Linked DNA regions of Homo sapiens: regions 1, 2 and 3 are each linked to region 4. The links are contacts of gene promoters, found by promoter capture Hi-C in blood cells and fetal thymus (Javierre and others, 2016). All regions are on one chromosome and are shown on one strand. The core of a region is centred on a gene start or on the middle of the fragment in contact, and the rest is flanking DNA. Distances in the headings are between cores, read along the strand shown.

Region 1 (2,913 bases), core at 323-2,822, 140 kb after region 4:
CCCTCATGAACACCCTTGGTCACCTGCTCACCACCCTTCCACTCCCTACAGGTCGGTGGATTTCCTCCTGGACTCCAGCCTGCGCAAGCTCTACCCAACAGTGGGGAAGCCCAGCTCCTCCTGATCATACTCTGGTACCTGGCCTGTGCATCGGCCTCCTGCTTCATGTCAACCTCCTACTCCTGCCAGGGAATGTGGACACCTGGCTCCCTGGTGTCCAAAGACCCTGGCACCTGGGTGGGTTTGAGCTGGACAGAAGCTTAGAGACAAAGGCTTCAAGAAGCAGTGGCTGCAGGGAGTCACAGAAGGGCAGGACCTGAACGCTGTCTGCTTCCCTGGAATCCAAGATGCTGAGTGGAAGTGGACCCTGGGTGGGCCCGGCCCTGTCTTTTTCAGGAAAATTACATCCTCCCATGGAGGATGAGAGACTGAGGCTCAGGGAGGGCAAGGAATAGGCCCAAGATCACTTGGCAAGCTGGGCACCCAGGACCCCCAGGTGCTTGACAGAGTCACCCCATGGTGGTATGGCTGAACAAGGAGCGGCAGACAACTCAGGGAGAAACTCAGGAGTGCAGTACCAGGGACACCTCAGGACAGATTCTCTGGCCAGGCCCTTCCCTGACCCAATAAATCCTGAAGAGGTTGTTATGTCTTCATTTCTGTTTGGGAGGAGCAGGGATGTGGTGGTGGGGAGGAGGGATGGGTAGCAGTCTCCCCGCCCATTAGTGCTTCCCTGCAGGTGCCTGGCATCCCACGTTGGTGCTGCCAGCCTCCTTTGGGGTAGGCATTACCCTTTACTTACTTACTTTTAATAGAGATGGGGGTCTCCCTATGTTGCCCAGGCTGGCCTTGAATGCCTGGGCTCAAGCAATCCTCCCACCTCAGCATCCCAAACTGCTGGGATTATAGGAATGAGCCACTGCACTCAGCCTGGCATTGCCCTCTTTTTCTAGCCTCCTAAAGCACCAACCCCTCTGGGAGGGGAGCCTGTTGGGCAGATACCACCTGAGCCTGAAGGTGGCCAAGATGGTGGTGTCAGCCCCATATGAGGGTCACATGAGACCTCCTCATGAGGGGACTCGGCAGCCTGGAGAAGGAAGTGACCAGGGGGCTTCTTACACTCAGAATCAGGGAATGGCCTGTTTTCCTTGTGGCTTCCCCTGAGCTGCTGGGCTCGAGAGTGCTAGAGGGGGCCATTCCTCTGATCCTGGGCCATCCCCCTCAACAGCTCAGAGAGGTAGAGAGGTGGGAGCACAGGGCTGAAGCAGACCTGGGCCCCTCTCAGCCCTGCCCCAAGCACCAAATCAGCTCCCACCAAGACCCTGGCCCCATCCCTTGCAGCCCAGGTGCAGTCAGGTAGGCTGACCCTGTCCTGGTGGGACTCACCTGCACCTGGGCTGGGACTTAAAGGGGCTGCAGGGCTGGGTAGGGGTGCTGCCAGCAAGACAGGATGGGGGCTCCGGGGTGGTGGCCCCTGCTGCTCTGGGGGTATCCATGGCTACAGGATGAGTCTGATGTGGGCTGAGCCTTTCTCTGCTACTCTTATTGTCCCACACTGGCAAGGTCCCCTTCCCAAGCCCCTATGGCCTCTGCCCAGTCACCTGTCACTCCCTCCCAGCTCCCTTAAAGGCTTTAAGCCCCGCCTTGTTCTCTAGCCCCCGACCCCACCCCCCATTCCCTGTCTGAGCTGGCACTCACATCCTTCTCCAGCCCAGCATTTTCCCAGCTCATCTTCTCCCCCGGCAGTCACAGCCCCATGCGGGGTACATTCACACCTGCATCCCTGTGACATCTCCTGGCATCTACCACCAATTCCTTGCTCACTCACTCTCCACTTTCCACTCTGCAGGCTCTCCCTCAAGCTGGGATCTGTGCAGGCCACATATAGGCTTTGTGCTCATGGGCCTAAGCGCCCAGCCTTGTCCTTCTCCCCATCACCTGCCCTCCTGTGCCTCTATGCCTTTCCTCACAACACACTGTTCCTCAGCTGCAAATCCTTTTCCTCTTGGCCAGCTATGAGCACCCTTCAGAACCAGCTCCAGTGCCCCTTCTGTTGTTGCCCCTTACTATGCCTTACTGTGGGCCACCTCTGCCCTTGACTGCCCCGTTGGTGGTAACTTGTGAGGAAATACCGGGGTGCAAGTTTGCAGATGCCTGGCACATAGTAGGTGCTCACAGAAGGGGCTTTGAGGCACTCCCAGGCCAGGCTGATAGGGATGAGGTCGGTGGACATCCTGTCTGTAGGGGGAAACACCACCATCTCCACAACCCCCCAACATTTTACCCTGCTCCATTTATTATTATTATTATCATTTTGAGACTGAGTCTCGCTCTGTCACCCAGGCTGGAGTGCAGTGGCACAAACTTGTCTTACTGCAACCTCTGCCTCCCGGGTTCAAGCAGTTCTCCTGCCTCAGTGTCCCAAGTAGCTGGGACTAGAGGTGCATGCCACCATGTCCAGCTAATTTTTGTATTTTTAGTAGAGACGGGGTTTCACCATGTTGGCCAGGCTGGTCTTAAATTCCTGACCTCAACTGATCTGCCCACCTTAGCCTCCCAAAATGCGGGGATTGCAAGCGTGAGTCACTGTGCCCAGCTCCCTGCTCCATTCTGGAGATGCAGGGAATTAATTGAAGGTGGGGGATGCTGGGGGAGGTTTTTGGGCACCCTCTGCTGGCCATGTTCTCGCTGAGTCTGGTTCTCCGCCTGAGCTAGCCTGGGCTGGATTGCCAGGAGACAGCCTCCTGCAGGACTGTAATCAGACAGATGTCCTCCTGGCAGTGAGGAAGGAGCCCCAGGTGGATGCTTGCCACCTGTGCCTTGGCACCTGCCTGCCCTCCCCAGTCCCTGCCATACCTGGCTATGAGGTCTTCACTGCCCCATTCAAAGCTTATGGCTTCATCCAACTGGTGA
Region 2 (2,770 bases), core at 252-2,751, 170 kb before region 4:
AAGTACAGTAGATATACAGTGAAAATGTTCCTTACTTATGATCAGGTAAGATTCTGGATTTCTTTTCTAAATTCTTTTTTTTCTTTATTTCCTTTGGTTTTTGTAGAAGGTGACTGAGATGTACCAGTTCAAATTCAAATACACGAAAGAAGGAGCCACTATGGATTTTGACAGGTAGAATCTAACTGCTTAATGAACATGAGAAATAAATAGGATTGAGGTAAACATAAGCTTCTTGAGGCCAGAGAAAGGCCTTATACTTCTTTACACATTTCCCCACAAACCCTACAGAAAACCACTATTATAAAAAGGGGCTGCAACAATTGTTTACATTCCTGAAATCCATGGATTAAGCTGGTGGGAATAGAGAAAATGGCATGCAGCACAAAGGTAGAAATTATGTCAATAAGGTTGCCTACACGCTATTGATTGAATAACTCCATAAGGCTCTGTCTAGCCATTAATTCAAAGTTTCTCAACTGCTATGCCTAGATAGCGATCCTTTCCACCTCGATATAGCCAGCCTGTGCCTAGGGTAGATAATACCCTTGGACTATTTGCCCGTATGCACAAATATTCTCATTTGCTTACCCCAGTATGTCATATAAATATCATTTCCTTGTGTCCTTGTATGAAAAGATTAGAAAGCACTGCAGTTTCCTTATGAAGTCGAAAATTCCAAGTTTTAGGTTACTAATGGGTTAAATAGCAAACACAAGGACATTGAAGAGCAACGTTTATTTTTCTCCCAGTAGCTTTTGGATTCAGACCTGCCAGGGGGGATGGAGAGCTAAGTATTGCTGATGAGATGGCACAGTAGTGGAAGGTACAGATGATGGTGAAAAGCTCTGGATAGTAGAGGAATCCAAGTAAGGGGGATGGATGCCCTTGAAAGGAAAGACTGATGAGAGACATGGCCTAATTTTCAATTTTCCCTACTATTAGCTCTGGCTCATCATTTGCCATGAGCTTGAGGACTTTTCTCCAAGATTCACTCCCTTGATTATCCTTCCATTTGTAAAACCTACAGACAGCACTAGAATGTGAAGAGAAAATCAGTTCCAAAAATGAGAATTAAAATATTACCTTTTATTAGCTAACATTTGTATAATACTTTACAGCTTATACAGCAGCACTTTTCATACACGTTTTCTCACATAAAAAGTTACCTTTACTCTCCAAAACTCAAAAATATACACTGATGGCCAGATTAAACTCTTTTGTTCTGAAGGCACATATGCCAAGAGGTAAGCTGTAAAACAAAAATGGCCAAATCTTTCACATGCTAAGGAGAGAAGGTGATGCATATTATTAATTTCCTAGAGAAGAAATATAGGCATTTGTTTAAATGGGAGTCCTGAATATGATTTTACTGATGTGTCCTGGAGGCTCCCATGAGCTACATATCTATAGCCCTTCATTCTGGTTACCTACATTTGAATTGGTTAAATCCTGGTTGGCAGAATTTTAAGTTGTTCAAAATTGGAAAAGGAGCTAATGTATTCACTTAATAAATGTTTGCTTCATGAATTCACACTGTCTCCAAAGATCAGTTAGGGAAAAATCCAACATTTCAATTACTTAGGGTTATTTTTCATATTAAGAGCTAACTATGTGCACAGCCATGTGTAAATATATTATAGTCATGGTCCCTCCTGGAAACTACTCAAATGTGAGACTAATTGTGGAAGGAAACTTTGGAGATAAATGAACAAAGTTTAGAATTGGAAGGTAATTTAGTCCAAATTGTTCATTCATTCATTAATTCAACAAATGTTGATTGAATAGCTGGGCACCAAACTCTGTACTGTGGAGATGAAAGATATAGCCACTCACAGTCTAGAGAAGGACAAATAGTTATCCTGAGGATGAGATGAGGGTATTATCAGAGAAGACTTCTTTGAAGAGTCTGCGCATGAGCTAGGTATTAGAGGATAAATTTAGGACAGTCAGGAAGAAAAGTGGAAAAGCACAGTACAAGCAAAGTGAACAGCATATGCAAATACTTTGAGTGAGAGGAAACTGGGCAATAGCTGCAGATGAGGATGGAGGTGAGGATATGACGGGTTGTGAAAGGAATTGTATACACACTGTCTTTGAATTTGATTGAAAACTGATGGATATAATAGAAGAATTCTAAGTAAGAAGGTGACATGAACAGATTTTCCTATTAGTAATATTATTTCAGCGGTGATATGGAGAATATTTTGTAGTGTGGACAAGAAGGAAAGCAGGAAAAATAGTTAGATAGCCACTGTAGTAATCAATGCAAGAGTGAGGAAGGGATACTTTTGCGAGATAATCAGACGGTAGAAAGTCCCAGAGCTGGTGATTGATTTTATGCTTGAGAGTTGTAGAAATGTCTTTACGCTTATCTCACAAATGAGCTAACTGACCTAGAGTGTGTCTAAATGACTTGACCAAGGTCATTCAGCTAGTTATCAGCAGAGCTGATATTAGATGCCAGGTCACCTAATTCCAAATTCGTTGTTCTTACTGTTGTGGTATATGATTTTTTTCAAATCAAATTTTTAAAAAGATCGTATTTTAAATGCTTTTAGGGAATTTGCTACTTAAGAAATTCTTTGTATATACATTGCAAAAAGTACCATCGCTCCCCTAATTTACATTCTAAAAAAGTCTCAAAATATACTAATGTTTAATTTATATTTACTCACATAGTCAAAAGTTTTGTTCCTTTTGGGATAGATTGCCACTATTGTATATGATCAAAAAGTATGCTTTTTTTTCTGTGTAGTCATAGCAGCAG
Region 3 (2,834 bases), core at 169-2,668, 210 kb before region 4:
AAAGAATATTTCAGCCCAAATTTCAGTTTTAGTCATTATGTTCTAAACTCATGTTCTCGCCAACTTGAATAGTTTTTTTTTTCTTTCCTGCAGAAACAAAATAAGAACAGGTTTCAAGTGGCTCACTCTTTCATCTACTCTCTTGGGAAATCCCCTTGGGGAGGTTCATGGGACTCCAGGAGCCTTTGGAAAGCACCACAGGATACGAAATATCTACCTAAACAGGTGAGAAACGATCCAAGGAGCCACACCCCCAACTGCTCCCACAGTTACCAGGGCAGAAAAAACTGAGATTAGGGGTAGGGCACAAAGGAGAATATATTTATGTTTTATTTGCATAATTACAAATTAATGTTAAAAAGAATGCAAAGTCAGGTCCAGGGTAGGGATGAAGAGGTTGCAGATGCCCTCAAGTATTGGAAAGCTCTGGCCTTCTGGCCTTATGTCTTTTTTCTTTCTTTTCTTTTTTTTTATTTTTGAGACAGGGTCTCCCTCTGTTGCCCAGGCTGGAGTGCAATGGTACGATCTTGGCTCACTGCAACCTCAAACTCCCCGGCTCAAGCGATCCTCCTACCTCAGCCTCCCGAGCAGCTGGGACTACAGGCGCACGTCAGGTGGCCCAGCTAATTTTTGTACTTTTTAAAATTTTTTTGAGACGGAGTCTCGCTCTGTCGCCCAGGCTGGAGTGCAATGGCGGAATCTCGGCTCACTGCAACCTCAGCCTCCTGGGCTCAAGCGATTCTCGTGCCTCAGCTTCCCAAGTAGCTGGGACTACAGGCGCGCGCCACCACGCCCAGCTAATTTTTGTATTTTTTGTAGAGACGGGTTTTCAACATGTTGGCCAGGCTGGTCTCGAATTCCTGACCTCAAGTGACGCGCCCGCCTCAGCCTCCCAGAGTGCTGGGATCCCAGGTGGAGCCACCGCGCCGCACTTCTCGGGCCTTCTTCTAACTCGGGTCCCTGGGCCCCCCAGGCTCTCGCTTCCCTCCCCTACGCCGCCCCGCGCCCGCCTCAGACCTCTCTGGGACCCGCCGGCCTGGCGTCCTGGCCCGCCCGAGCCCCACGGTCCCTCGGGTCCTAACCTCGGCGGGGCAGGCACCTCCTCAGGAAGCCCCGGAGCAGGCTGTCGTTGTATAGGTGGCCCAGGCTGGCGGCCCCTGACCGAAGGTCGCGTCGGGTCAGTGTGCAGCCCGTGGCTGAGAGGCGGCTGCTGAGGGGCCGGGCGGGCTAGGGGCCGGCTAGCCGCCGTTCGCCCCTGCTTTGCATATTCATGAAGTCTAGCGAGGCCGGTCGCCCAGGCTAGCCGTGGACGGGTCATGAATTATTCATGAGGAAACCTCTGGTCCCGCCCAGAAAGGCCTCGTTGACTATTCATGAGCCGAGGAGCGGGTTTGGGCCGGAAAAGGCCGTTGACCCCCGGTGGGAGGGAAGCGTCGACGAGCTGAGGTGAGGGCTGTTGAGACGCGAGGTCTCGGCCCAGAGAGGGCACTCGGGCGTTGTTAGTTCTGTCTTTATGTCAAAAAACAATTTTTTTTTCTTTTCTTATTACTTAAGGCTTTAAGTTGGATTTGAAAGTATCATATTTCGTGAGGGCCTAAAGTACTGTGAAGAGAATCGGGAGGGCAGGGGGCTGAGGAGGAAGGCAAAAGGGAGGCGATTTCCCCCAGAACTGGACAGAGAGCACCCAGGTAGTTTTGAAATTCAGATTTTTCTGGACATGAAATCAAACTTGCTGAGCAAGCAGCAGCCATAATGAGCCATGATGAGGCTGGCAGGGCAGACGATGTCTGTGCCCGACATTGGAGGGGGCCGTGTGTGGTGGAGCTTTGGGGAAGTTTATCTTACCTGGGTCAGATTCTCCCCAGCCATTGAGGTTTTCTGCCAGGATCGATGCCTGGTACAGGCCAAGAGGTGAGAGAGGTGGGGACAAGACACCCCGCCCCCCTTGACCTCAGCTCCCCTTTCACTTTAGTGAGGATTTGCCAATTAATCCCTATGGACTTTAGTTCCCTAAACAGAGGGAGAGAGTCTTGAACCTCAGGATTAGCCAATCGCCAAAATGTGTCCGAGTACGCAGGGCACTGGACAGGCTGTGCAGTACATCGTGTACTCAGCTGGTAGAAATGAGGGGTGGTTCTGGCCCCTAAAGGGGTTTTTAATCTCAGCAGGATCATAATCTAATTTCTCCTCCATTGGACCATCAATCTGTTGAGGTAGGAACAGTATTTTACATCTCGTAATCCTGCATGTTGTTGCCTGGCACATTGTAGTTGCCTCGTAGATGTTGAATGAATGAATAATTGAAATAGCATGAAAAAGATATTAAAAAGTCAAAAGAGCATGAACAAATACTCAATTAATATAGTGGAAGCCATTTTCTCTGAATGAGCACAGGTAGGGGAATTACCAGGGCCAAATGGAATTTGTTAAAATGGTGAATAATTTATTGAAGCAAGCTCTGTTGGAAGGTCTAAGTAATTGGGCGAACTTTGGCAAACCAAGTTCCCTTGCTTAGCCTCACTTTCCTTTTCTTTTTTCTTTTTTTTTTGTGAGATGGAGTCGAGCTCTGTGCCAGGCTGGAGTGCAGTGACGCAATCTCAGCTCACTGCAACCTCCACCTCTCGGGTTCAAGCGATTCCCCTGCCTCAGCCTCCCATGTAGCTGGGACTACAGGTGTGCACCACCACGCCCAGCTAAATTTTTTTATTTTTTTTTATTTTTAGTAGAGACAGGGTTTCACCATGTTGGCCAGGATAGTCTCGATCTCTTGACCTCGTGATCCTCCCACCTCGGCCTCCCAGAGTGCTGGGATTACAGGTGTGAGCCACTGCACC
Region 4 (2,804 bases), core at 92-2,591:
TGGCGTCCAGTCCTGAGCTGGGGCCAGGGCCTGGGTGGCTGCTATTCACCCCAGCACAGCCAGGAGGCCTCCAGGACCCTCCCCTGAGATGGCTGCCTGCTCCTGCATTCCTTCCCTCAGACTCCTGGAGTTTCCAGACCAGCAGGGGAGGAGGTGACCCAAACCAGAGAGTAAGACCAGGAGGAAATAATACCCAGGGATTTCTAACAGCAGCACTTGACTGGAATCATAACAGAGGCCCTTCTGCAGGCCTAAGACTGCTGAGTGCCCCTCAGCGGTTTTAAGTTTATAAAGGCCTCATGGGACCCTATGTATCAGAACCATAACTATACCCATTTTACATAAGAGAAAACAGCTCAGAGAGGGAAAGTGATTTGCTCAAGGGCACACAGCCAGGGAGTGGTGGAGTAGGATTCGAACCCCGACCCATCTGCTTTTAAGGCTTAAGCTCTTGGGACGGATCCCAGCAACTGGTGAGAACCCTACAGAAGGGGAGCACGACAAGCCCCTCCCGTACTCCCGTTCCCCAGACCAACCCCCACCTTTAAAGCCCTCCTCGTCCACCATAAGCGTGTAATCCTCAGGGGTCTCCGTCAGGCTGAAGAACTTGCACCTGGTTGGGGGTGGGGAGCATCTTCAGCTTGGTGTGGAGAACTAGGGGTCGGGAGTGGATTTCTCTCCATCTGCCCCGAGACACCCCCGCGACCCTGGGCCGGGCGCCTTCTTGCCCTCTCGGCCTTTAATTTCCAGGCCAATGGGATGTTAGCCCCATCTCGGGGGTTGGGGGCTACTTTCCGGCCTCCCGACCTCTCCAGGAACCCTCCACCCCTCCACTCCTGGAGGGAGGAGAGGTTCACACCCGCGGCGACAGCCCCAGGGGCGTCGGACCTTGGACCCCCTAGTCCAGCCCCTCTGACATGAAGGGAGGCGTCCTGGAAGGAGCTCCCCGCAGTGACCAGGTAGGAATGCCCCCATTTGACACTACTGAGTTAAGCATTGCCCATCCCAGGCTGTTTGCGCTTTGCCCCTGGGAGGGGGCCTCACGGGGCCGGATAGGCGGCGGTCCCCCAGGCCGGATGGCGGCCGGACGGGGAGAGTCCTCCCCACCCGCTCCCGCCCGCCTGCCTGCCTGCCTTACGGCGATCCTAATCCTCCGACCCTGGCCCGGAGCGAGAGCAGAGCCCCCAGCCCCTATCTGCGCTCCCGAACCCGGGCGCGCACCGGCTGCGGCGGGGCAGGAAGAGCAGCTTGATGAGCGGGTGGGTGTAGAGCCAGAGACCGGGACGGGCGACGCTCAGCACCCGCACCCGGTGTTCTAGGATGTGCAGCTCCATCGCGGCTCGCGCGGACCCGACCCCGCCGCCAACTAGACCCAGGCCGCACGGGAGGCGGGGCGGCGGGGGTGGTGCCCGAGCCTTAAAGGAGCCGCTGCGCTGCCGCGTCCACGCCGCCCGCTGCGAGGCTGACCCGCCCAGCCAGGCGCGGCGTCCGGCTCCTTGACGGCCACGCCCCGCGGGAAGAGAAGCCTATTGGGTGGTCACGCCTCCTCCTAACGCCAGAACCTCATCCCGCTTTCCAGCCAGCCCACCGAGACCGCCCCGAACGGCTCCGCCTTTTTTAGTACTGGCTCGGGGATAGACCCCACCCCGTCTGACTCCTCCAGGCCCCGCCCCTGACGCGCCCCCTCCCTGGGCTCCGCCCTTTCCGCGGAAAGCCAGCTGCGCAGCCGGTGGGAGCATCCCGGAGGGGACGTTTCTGTCCTTCTGGCACACACGTGGGTTTCATGATTGAAGTCCTTGAGACAGAAGGGACACGAAACAAACTGGAGCTCGGCTAGGACCAGAACGCTGCCCCCAAATCCCCGGAGCAATGAGAGGCACAGGTCTGCTGTGCAGCGCTGTCCCCCGGGCGCCTTTCGCTCTCCTGCCTCTCATGGCTGCAGGGGGCAGGGCCGCCAACACAGGATTGCGATTGATACCTACCCTTCCCCGCTTGCGAGGGGGCTGACAAATTGAAACCTGGCCTGGTAGCCCCACTTGTTCCTTTCATCCAACTTTCAAAATAGAAGGCTCCTCACCAGGGGCACACAGAGGTAGAATCCTAGCCACCTCTGCCTGAGCGACATACTTTGGGTTAGGGGGCTGCAGGTGGCCAAGGCCTAAGGCTTGAGGTCCCTCGATACCAACAAAACCCGGAAGTGCTTGAGCCAGTAATGCCCAGTGCTCAGACTTTGGTGGGGGAGGCCCTTGCAGCTGAGGTTCAGTGAGTACTCAGACCTCAAGCCTGAAACTTGAGCCCCAAAGCCTGCAGCCCTTAGCTAGCCTGTGCACATCTAAACTTGCTTCAGGTTCAAGGAGGCCCCCGGCACTGGCAGACACCCCAGATCTTATCAGGCCTTCACAGGTCTAAGACCCCCCCAAGGCTAAGCAGGCATCAGCATGTCCATGTTGGCTCCATGCAGGGCTGAGAATGCTCCAGGGGACCCTTGCCTGGCCTGAGCACCCTGAGGCCTCAGATGTGAGGCTTTGAACCAAGTAGACTAAAGCAGGCCTCAGGCCTGATTGGGACCCAGCAGGCCTAAGCAGGCCCTCTGCCTGCTCTGGAGCCCCCACCATAGGCAGATGGAAGCCAAGCTAAGCCTCCTCCCTGGACTCTCGGGCTTGACACATTCCTGTGAAACACTATGTAGCCACCACATCCTGGCCTATCCCCTGGAGGACTAGGGGAAGGAGGAGCTTCTCAAAGGCTGAGCCCATCTCATCAATGGCAGGTGCAGACAGAGTGGGAAACCATGGGGCTGAGGG

The links. The method cuts DNA at HindIII sites, captures the fragments that hold promoters and counts their contacts. A CHiCAGO score of 5 or more calls a contact.
Region 1: a contact is called between a fragment that was not itself captured here and the fragment with the promoter of CASTOR1 in region 4, in 11 of 17 cell types (naive CD4 T cells, naive CD8 T cells, non-activated CD4 T cells and 8 more). The highest score is 10.1, in naive CD4 T cells.
Region 2: a fragment that was not itself captured here is called in contact with the fragment with the promoter of CASTOR1 in region 4 in 12 of 17 cell types (total CD4 T cells, activated CD4 T cells, naive CD4 T cells and 9 more); the score reaches 9.3 in total CD4 T cells.
Region 3: the fragment with the promoter of HORMAD2 here is called in contact with the fragment with the promoter of CASTOR1 in region 4 in 2 of 17 cell types (activated CD4 T cells and M1 macrophages); the score reaches 7.4 in activated CD4 T cells.

What each region holds. Positions count from the first base shown.
Region 1 is chr22:30,428,411-30,431,323 of GRCh38, forward strand. It overlaps MTFP1 (mitochondrial fission process 1), which reads left to right. Exons shown (of 4, transcript NM_016498.5): 4 at 52-644. The coding sequence ends at 124. Among named protein-coding and RNA genes, the nearest start is that of MTFP1, 4.1 kb to the left of the region's middle. The HindIII fragment of the contact is 2,630 bases long and covers 258-2,887 here.
Region 2 is chr22:30,118,874-30,121,643 of GRCh38, forward strand. It overlaps HORMAD2 (HORMA domain containing 2), which reads left to right. Exons shown (of 11, transcript NM_152510.4): 8 at 107-174; 9 at 2,759-2,770. Among named protein-coding and RNA genes, the nearest start is that of HORMAD2, 40 kb to the left of the region's middle. The HindIII fragment of the contact is 2,545 bases long and covers 230-2,770 here.
Region 3 is chr22:30,079,046-30,081,879 of GRCh38, forward strand. It overlaps HORMAD2 (HORMA domain containing 2), which reads left to right and starts at 1,419. Exons shown (of 11, transcript NM_152510.4): 1 at 1,419-1,446. HORMAD2-AS1 (HORMAD2 and MTMR3 antisense RNA 1) reads right to left here and starts at 1,212. Exons shown (of 5, transcript NR_110541.2): 1 at 1,083-1,212. RefSeq lists enhancers at 875-1,572, 1,410-1,489 and a silencer at 1,020-1,069. The HindIII fragment of the contact is 6,725 bases long and covers 1-2,834 here.
Region 4 is chr22:30,288,164-30,290,967 of GRCh38, forward strand. It overlaps CASTOR1 (cytosolic arginine sensor for mTORC1 subunit 1), which reads right to left and starts at 1,342. Exons shown (of 9, transcript NM_001037666.3): 1 at 1,222-1,342; 2 at 543-613. The coding sequence starts at 1,334. RefSeq lists silencers at 1,000-1,079, 1,280-1,719 and an enhancer at 2,600-2,659. The HindIII fragment of the contact is 5,917 bases long and covers 1-2,804 here.